3 separate regions of the Homo sapiens genome follow, and all the other regions are linked to region 3. Evidence: promoter capture Hi-C in human tissues and cell types (Jung and others, 2019). All regions are on one chromosome and are shown on one strand. The core of a region is centred on a gene start or on the middle of the fragment in contact, and the rest is flanking DNA. Distances in the headings are between cores, read along the strand shown.

Evidence for each region. The method cuts DNA at HindIII sites, captures the fragments that hold promoters and counts their contacts. A contact is called where the count stands out against the background at its distance.
Region 1: the fragment with the promoter of MKS1 here is called in contact with the fragment with the promoter of CUEDC1 in region 3 in 1 of the 25 tissues and cell types used here (liver).
Region 2: a contact is called between a fragment that was not itself captured here and the fragment with the promoter of CUEDC1 in region 3, in 1 of the 25 tissues and cell types used here (liver).

The regions. Positions count from the first base shown.
Region 1 is chr17:58,217,980-58,220,679 of GRCh38, reverse strand. It overlaps MKS1 (MKS transition zone complex subunit 1), which reads left to right and starts at 1,425. Exons shown (of 18, transcript NM_017777.4): 1 at 1,425-1,529; 2 at 1,951-2,060. The coding sequence starts at 1,450. It overlaps LOC105371841 (a long non-coding RNA gene), which reads right to left and starts at 1,366. Exons shown (of 2, transcript XR_934884.4): 1 at 621-1,366. RefSeq lists an enhancer at 1,318-1,597. The HindIII fragment of the contact is 13,166 bases long and covers 1-2,700 here.
Region 2 is chr17:58,256,648-58,259,409 of GRCh38, reverse strand. The region is part of intron 9 of LPO (lactoperoxidase); the gene reads right to left. Among named protein-coding and RNA genes, the nearest start is that of LPO, 19 kb to the right of the region's middle. The HindIII fragment of the contact is 4,431 bases long and covers 1-2,762 here.
Region 3 is chr17:57,954,056-57,956,865 of GRCh38, reverse strand. It overlaps CUEDC1 (CUE domain containing 1), which reads left to right and starts at 1,454. Exons shown (of 11, transcript NM_001271875.2): 1 at 1,454-1,641. RefSeq lists a silencer at 1,530-1,599. The HindIII fragment of the contact is 13,236 bases long and covers 1-2,810 here.

The DNA of each region.
Region 1 (2,700 bases), core at 176-2,675, 260 kb before region 3:
GAGATCGAGACCATCCCGGCTAAAACGGTGAAACCCCGTCTCTACTAAAAATACAAAAAATTAGCCGGGCGTAGTGGCGGGCGCCTGTAGTCCCGGCTACTTGGGAGGCTGAGGCAGGAGAATGGCGTGAACCCGGGAGGCGGAGCTTGCAGTGAGCCGAGATCCCGCCACTGCACTCCAGCCTGGGCGACAGAGCGAGACTCCGTCTCAAAAAAAAAAAAAAAAAAATTATTATTTCCCAGGTTGGAAATGTGTGCGTTTATGGAATAAATTGGTAGGTGAGAGGCTGTGAGGCAAACTGGAAGGTGGTTAGGCTTCAAAAGACAGAAGAACTTGGGCTAGAATCCCAGTACTTTTACCACTTGCAAGCTAGCAAGTCCTTTAAACCCTGGCCTTCACGAACTTCATTTTTAAAGTGAATAAAAGTACCTTTTTGAGAGGCTTCTACAAGGATTTGGGACAATGCAAACAAAAGTGCTCAAGCTGCACTAGATCCTAAATAAATGGTGCTATTTATGGTGAGTCGGTGTTACACAACTAGTGGCTATGGCACCCAGAGCTTCCAATGCCAAATCATCAAACTGGCATGAGATTCCCGAGTTCAGGGGACAATTGCTTACTTTGTTGGAGGAGGACTAGATGTGAACAAGGCTGATAAATGTTGACATTCCCAAAGTGCCGGGACGCCAGACGTGAGGTTACAGCATGTCCTTCCTTTGCTAGTACAACGAAGCATGACTTGTGAATGTCACTTTTTTGGCTTTTCAGGAAGCCAGTGCAGTAACAAAGTGGCTTAATGATCCAAAACTAACATACACAAGGTAAGAATCAGTTCAATAATAACATCGTTTCCTTCCTTACTGTTGACTTCCTTGTTTTTTCTTTCTTTGCTCAGTGAATATCAACACAAAGACTAATAAATCTTCTGACACTTTTTTTGTCTTCCAAGAATATATTTTCTTGTCTGGCTAAGGGCCATCACCTTCCCTGACTCCTTTGGGAATAATGGGTGCATTTCTTACAGTCACATCACCCGATTTTCAGGCCAAAGTTTTCACGCGTTGGGTGGAAGGCAGTGTGGCATGGTGGAAAAGGTAGAGGGCGAAGACTCAGGCCACCTGGTCCCCGTCATCATTTCTGCATCTATCTGTCTATATGAAGTGGGCTGATGGCTGTGCCAGTTTCCTCATTTGCACAGCGCACGAGGTCCCGCTTTCGGTGAGCTTTTATCGCATACATGGTAAGCGGTGATCGGTAGGACCCCGGAGCCCTCTTGGGCGTTCGGCTTGGGCTGCACTTGCACTGTGTGGCCAACTGCGACCGTGGCGCCGTGACGGGAACGGCGGGTTGCGCGCGCAGCACCTCCGTCGCCTCCCGATCCAGCGTCTCCGTTGCCAGGAAAACAGAGCGGCGCGCTTTCCGGCGCAGTCGCGGCGCGTCGCAGCTGTCATGGCGGAGACCGTCTGGAGCACTGACACCGGGGAGGCAGTGTATCGCTCCCGGGACCCCGTGCGCAACTTGCGCCTCCGGTAGTCGCACCGCCCCAGCCCCGAGGCCCCATGCTTTTGTGTCCTTAGATCATTCCAACCTGAGCTCGGTGTTCTGAGGTCCCCACTTTCTGCTTACAATCCCGACCACTTCTCCGGGCTCCCCACTTCTTTCACTATCCGTACCCCCATCCACTCACAGCCTCTAAGAACCCCTTACAGACCTACCCAAGTCCATTCACGTCTTTGTTGCTCCCAGTTTCTCAAAGCCCTGTGCCCCCAGTACACCCTCTCCCCTTCATTCTTCCCCATAGGACGGCGCACCCACCCACCTCCTCTCCGTTGTCTGCACCCAGCACACCTTGGCAACCCTACCTCCTCTGTTTTGTTTCCCCCATCCTTGCTTTGTGTTCATCTCCTGGTTGCGTGTCTGGTAACGAATATTTTGGGCTTTTCTTGACAGAGTCCACCTGCAAAGAATCACATCAAGCAACTTTCTTCATTATCAGCCTGCTGCCGAGCTCGGGAAGGACCTCATAGACTTGGCCACTTTTAGGCCTCAGCCAACTGCCAGTGGGTGTTACGGTGGTGATGTGCCATCTAATACTAATTATGATACTAATCAGAATTGTGGCCAAATGTAGTGAGATAACAAATACTATACTTCTGATATGTTATAGAGTTGCCCGGCAACCTACATTCTATTTGTGGCTTTTTTTTTTTTTTTTTTTTTTTTTTTTTTTTTGAGACGGAGTCTTGCTCTTTCCCCCAGGCTGAAGTGCAGTGTCGCTATCTCCGCTCACTGCAAGCTCCGCCTCCCGGGTTCACGCGATTCTCCTGCCTCAGCCTCCCGAGTAGCTGGGACTACAGGCGCCCGCCACCACGCCCGGCTAATTTTTTGTATTTTCAGTAGAGGCGGGGTTTCACCGTGTTAGCCAGGATTGTCTCGATCTCCTGACCTCGTGATCCGCCCGCCTTGGCCTCCCAAAGTGCTGGGATTACAGGCGTGAGCCACCGCGCCCGTCCTATTTGTGGCATTTTTAAAAGAGAAAACGTGCCCCAAACCCTAAATACACATATAAACACTTTTAAAAACAATTTTTAAACTGGAGACTGCTTGCAAAATCTGCATATGATGTGCATGTATAGATCAACTGTGTTCTTGTGGTTTTCCTTATCTGGGAAACCAAAAGAATGAGGAGGAGAGGACAGA
Region 2 (2,762 bases), core at 192-2,691, 300 kb before region 3:
ATGTAAATATGCCCAAATATTTTTTACCAAAGAAACAAAAGCAATTCAATGGAGAAACAATAGCCTTTCAATAAGTGGTGCTGGAGCAATTTGACATCCATAGCCAGAAAAAATTTAAAAAAGCATCTTGACCTAAACCTCACACTTTATGCAAAAATTTACCCAAAATGGATCATAGACTTAAATGTAAAACATAAAACTATAAAACTTCTAGAAGGAAAAAGCAGGAGAAAGTCTTTGGGACCTAGGACTAGGAAAAAAGTTCTGAGACTTGACATCACATGCACAATCCAGGAAAGGAAAATTTGATTAAAAGAACTTCATTAAAATTAAAAGCTTTTGCTCTACAAAAGACCTTCTTAAGAGGATGAAAAAAAAAACCCCCACCAAATTATAGACTGGGAGAAAATCACTGCAAATCACATATCTGACAAAGGACTTGTGTCTAGAATACGTAAAGAACTCTCAAAACTCAACATTACAAGTCAAATAGTCCAATTTGAAAATAGGCAAAATATATGAACAAGTATTTTATTGAAGAGGATGCACAAGTGGCAAATGAGCACAGGAAAAGATGTTCAACATTACCAGCCATTAGAGAAATGCAAATTAAAACAATGAGCTATTACTACACACCTATCAGAAAGGATAAAACAAAAAATGGTGGTGACACCGTCAGGATGCTAAGAAATTGGATCATGCATACATTGCTGATAGGAATGTAAATGGTACAGCCATTCTAAAAAATAGTTTGGCAGTTCCTTTTAAAACTAAAAGTAGAAGACTCAGAGTAGCCAAAGTTATCCTAAGCAAAAAGAACAAAACCAGAAGAATCACATTACCTGACTTCAAGTTATAGTACAGAGCTATAGCAACCAAACAGCATGGTACTGGCATAGAAACAGACACAAAGACCAATGTAACAGAATAGAGAACCCAGAAACAAATCCACACATCTACAGTTAACTCGTTTTCAACAAAGATGCCAAGAACATATACTGGGGAAAAGACAGTCTCTTCAATAAATGGTGCTGGGAAAACTGGATATCCATATGCCGGAGAATAAAACTAGACCCCTATCTTTTACCCATATATAAAAATCAAATCAAAATGGATTAAAGACAAATCTAAGACCTCAAACTGTGAAACTACTGCAAGAAAACATTGGGGAAAATCTCCAGGACATTGGTCTGGGCAAAAATGTCTTGAGCACTATCCCACAAGCATAGGCCACCAAAGCAAAAATGGACAAATGGGATCACATCAAATTAAAAAGCTTCTGCACAACAAAGGATACAATCAACAAAGTGAAGAGATAACCCACGGAATGGGAGAAAATATTAATTTTGCAAACTACCCTTCTGACAAGGGATTAACAACCAGAATATATATGAAGCTTAAACAACTCTATAGGAAAAAAATCTAATAATCCAATCAAAAGATAGGCAAAAGATTTGAATAGACATTTCTCAAAAGAAGACATACAAATGGCAAACAGGCATATGAAAAGGTGCTCAACATCATTGATCATCAGAGAAATGCAGATCAAAACTACAATGAGATATTATGTCACCCCAGTTAAAATAACTTATATAAAAAAGACAGGCAATAACAAATGCTGGCAAGAATGTGGAGAACACATTTGGCACTGTTGGCAGGAATGTAAATTAGTACAACCACTATGGAGAACAGTTTGGAGATTCCTCAGAAAACTAAAAATTGAGCTGCCATATGATCCAGCAATCTCACTACTGGGTGTATACCCAAAAGAAATAAAATCAGTATATCAAAGAGATATCCGCACTCTTACATTTGTTACAGCACTGTTTACAATAGCTAAGATTTGAAAGCAACTTGTGTCCATCAACAGATGAATGGATAAAGAAAATGTGATACATATACACAATGGTGTACTATTCAGCCATAAAAAAGAATGAAATCTAGTCAATTGTAACAACATGGATGGAAGTGGAAATCATTATGTTACGTGAAATATGCCAGGCAGAGAAAGACAAACATGGCATGTTCTCACTTATTTGTGGGATTTAAATATCAAAACAATTGAACTCATGGACATAGAAAGTAGAAAGATGGTTACCAGATCCCTGGAAGGGTAATGAGGGGCTGTGGGGGGCGGAGGTGGAGATGGTTGGTGGGTACCAAAAAATAGAATGATGGCCAGGCGCGGTGGCTCATGTCTGTAATCTCAGCATTTTGGGAGGCCAAGGTGGGTGGACCGCTTAAGGTCAGGAGTTTGAGACCAGCCTGGCCAACACGGTGAAACCCTATCTCTACTAAAAATACAAAAATCAGCAGGACGTGGTGGCAGGTGCCTGAAACCCCAGCTACTCAGGAGGCTGAGGAAGCCTGGGCAACAGAGCAAGACTCTATCTCAAAAAAAAAAAAAAAAAAAAAAAAAGAGTAAGACCTACTATTTGATAGCACAACAGGGTGACTATAGTTAATAATAATTTAACTTAATTGTGCATTTTCAAATAACTTAAGAGTGTAACTGGATTGTTTGCAACTCAATGTATAAATGCTTGAGAGGATGGATACCTCATTCTTTTTTTTTTTTTTTTTGAAAGGGAGTCTCACTCTGTTGCCCAGGCTGGAGTGCAGTGGTGTGATCCTGGCTCACTGCAACCTCCGCCTCCTACCTCCACCTCCTGGGTTCAAGCGATTCTCCTGCCTCATCCTCCCGAGTAGCTGGGACTACAGGCGCATGCCACCACACCCAGCTAATTTTTGTATTTTTAGTA
Region 3 (2,810 bases), core at 205-2,704:
ATATTGGCCAGGCGGACAAATCCTGAGCTCTCAGTTACAACCTGGGAAAGGAGCCAGGAGTCAGTATAGAGGCATGGGTCTGTCCCTTCGGATTAAGAATCTTTAACCTGGGGCCTGAAGACCATCTTCTGGGATTTCAAGCACCCTGCCTCCCCCGGAAATTGAATGCACCAGGGAGTGAAGTGTGGGGAGAGAGGAGCAGGAGAGAGGAGATCCTCAGAGGGGTTTGGAAACCCAGTCCTGGAGTTCCGTTCAACATGCTAACCTAACGTTGGGCCTCCCCGAGGAGGGTGTGGTTCTGAGGTTTCTCCCCCTCCCAGTTTCCCACCTTGCTGAAGAAACTTGCCCTTGACATGCAAATGATGGAAACACATTGGTGTCTGGGGCACTTTGGTTTGTGGTTTTTACCATCAGCTGTCTCTGAGGCTGAGCGTGTCGATCTGTCTCAGCAAGGCTAGCAAATTGCAAGCGCTCAGAGGAGGGGAGAGGGGGGCTATTCCTGGGGTTCTGGGCCCAGATGGGCAAATGGGTCTGTAAGGCAGACTTTTCCAGGAGGAGGGTGCAGACCCTTTGCAAGTTGTTTGGGGACAGAGCTTAGTTTGCATCTGGCCTTCTTCACCCTCCTCAGATCCCCTAGGTAGCAGGGTGCTTGGTGGTCACCACCTGACCTAGGCTACCTACTCCCAAATTGGAGTCTGAAATGAAAGCACGTGGGAAAAGTATAGCAAAGGTCAGTTTCCCATTTATTAAACAAGTTCTTCCGTGGAAAATCTTCCCAGGGCTCAGCAGCCCTTGAAGTGATCAGGGATGCTGGGGAGGTTGGGGGAGGAGAAAATGGGAGATGGCAGGTGGTATCTGTCGGTGTGGACGAGTGATAGCTTTGATTTGCTCCCCCTTCCCACCATCTCCTGTGTCCTCAGCATTTGATTTGGTTTCCTTTCCGGGGCCCTAATTCCAGGGAGGTGCCCCTCCTCCACACCTGTGTCCCAAGCCCCAGCTGTGCGTCCTCACCCTGGGTTCCTGGCACTGACCTGGAACCTGTCGGGCAGCCCTGCTCTTAGCTCCCCGCGGAGTCTCGGAGGTCTCAGGTCTCCTCCGCCCACCCTCTCCGCAGCTGGGAGGGGCAGGATGCCCCGCACCCCGCTCTGCGCGGGAGGTCGAGGCACCCCGCTCACGCCCTCCTGCCCGCAAGCTAGGGAGTCACTGCGGCCGGGGAGGGAGGTACACGGAGGGCATTTTTCCAGCCTTCACTGGGTGCTCCCCTCTCCACCCCCGGCAACCATGTAGGTTTCCGGACCCCCAGGTCCGCTTCCCTCCTCTCTGGAAAGGGGTCGGCCATAGGGAAAGGGCCCGGGGGCGCCGCAGCCGGGCCCCCGCCCCGCCCCGCCCGCAGCCCCGCTCCTCCCCGCGCGGCCCCACTTGTGGCCCTGCCGGCAGCCGCGCAGGGACAGCTGCATTTCTCGCCGCCCGCCGCTAGGAAGCCGGCCTCGCCTCACTTTCTCCGCCTCCCCGCGCCCCAGCCGCGCCGCCGCCGCCGAGCCTGGCCCCGCCGCCACCGCTGCGGATTGCAGCCCCTCCCCCGCCCGGCCCGCGGCCCGGCCCCTGCGGCCCGCGCGGAGCGGACGCGCGTGGCGCTGCCCGGTAAGACCCCCGCGCTCCCGCGGCTCCCGCCCGGCCCCGGGCGCGGTCCTCGCCGGCGCCCCGCGCGCAATCCCGGCCGCGGCCCCGGCCCAGCGGCCCCACCTTCTCGGGACCCGTTGCCCAGGCGCCGCCGGGAGGGCCGGGCCGTCGCGAGTTTGATTCCCGGGGCTGTCGGCGCGGCTCCCCGGGAGCTCCGCGTGCGGCAGGTCCCCGCCCGCCCTTCCTTCCCGAGCCCCCACCTCATCCCGGGCCCCGGGCGCGGGGGGCGTGCGGGCATCTGGGGGGCCGGGAGCGGGGCGCGCGATTAGACCGGGGGGCGCGGGCCAGCGCCGCAGGGAAGGGAGACGAGGCCTCCCGGAGCCGGCTTCGCCCGAGTCCCCTCTCCCGCCGCTCCCCCTTTTGTGTGGGCGCCCCTCCCCGCAGTGCCCGGGCCTGGGGGCGCAGGCTGGGCGGCGACGGCAGGCGGGGGCGCCTGCTGGGAGCCGAGCGCCTTTCAGGGGGAGGGGAGCTTCGCTTCCTGCCCCCCGCCGATGTCACAGGTCGGCTCAGCCTTTTTTGGTCCCTCCCGGTCCCCTGGGAGCTGTATCTCCCGTCAGCTCGGCCAGGGAAAGTTGGGAATGCGCTGTCCCCGCCCCTGCTCGCCCGCCCCGCCGGCTCCTGTGCCCCAGGCTCTGAGCTCCAAGGGGGGCTGGTGTCAGCGTTTATTCATTCCTCCCTCTTCCTTTTCTCGGTCGCGTGGTCGCCTTACACCCAGCACTGCCCTGCCCATTTCTTTTCCCCTTAAAAAAAGTTTTAGCTCTAAGAAACGTACACTGAAATTAAATTCCTGAGACGGAATGTGTTTTAAGGGGAGGGAGGGTTTAGATTTTCCTTTTTTTGGTGGAGTAGTGGAGTAGAAGATGAGGGGACTCCCTGGGAGTTTAGAAACAAGATGCCCTGGAGGCGATAGAGGATACAAGAAGACCATCCACCGTGCTCCCCACCTGATCCGCAGTCAGCGTCTTGTAGCGAGAGGAATGAGCCTTCCCTGGGTGATCCCGCAGCACCTGAGCCACCTGGCCCAGGAGAAAGGACTCAGGGAGATGTACTGGGCCTTTCACCCCTTTTCTTTATAGCCAGCTGTGCCTGAAGGAGGTGAGGGACCCCAGGAATTCTCTCACGGAGGAAGT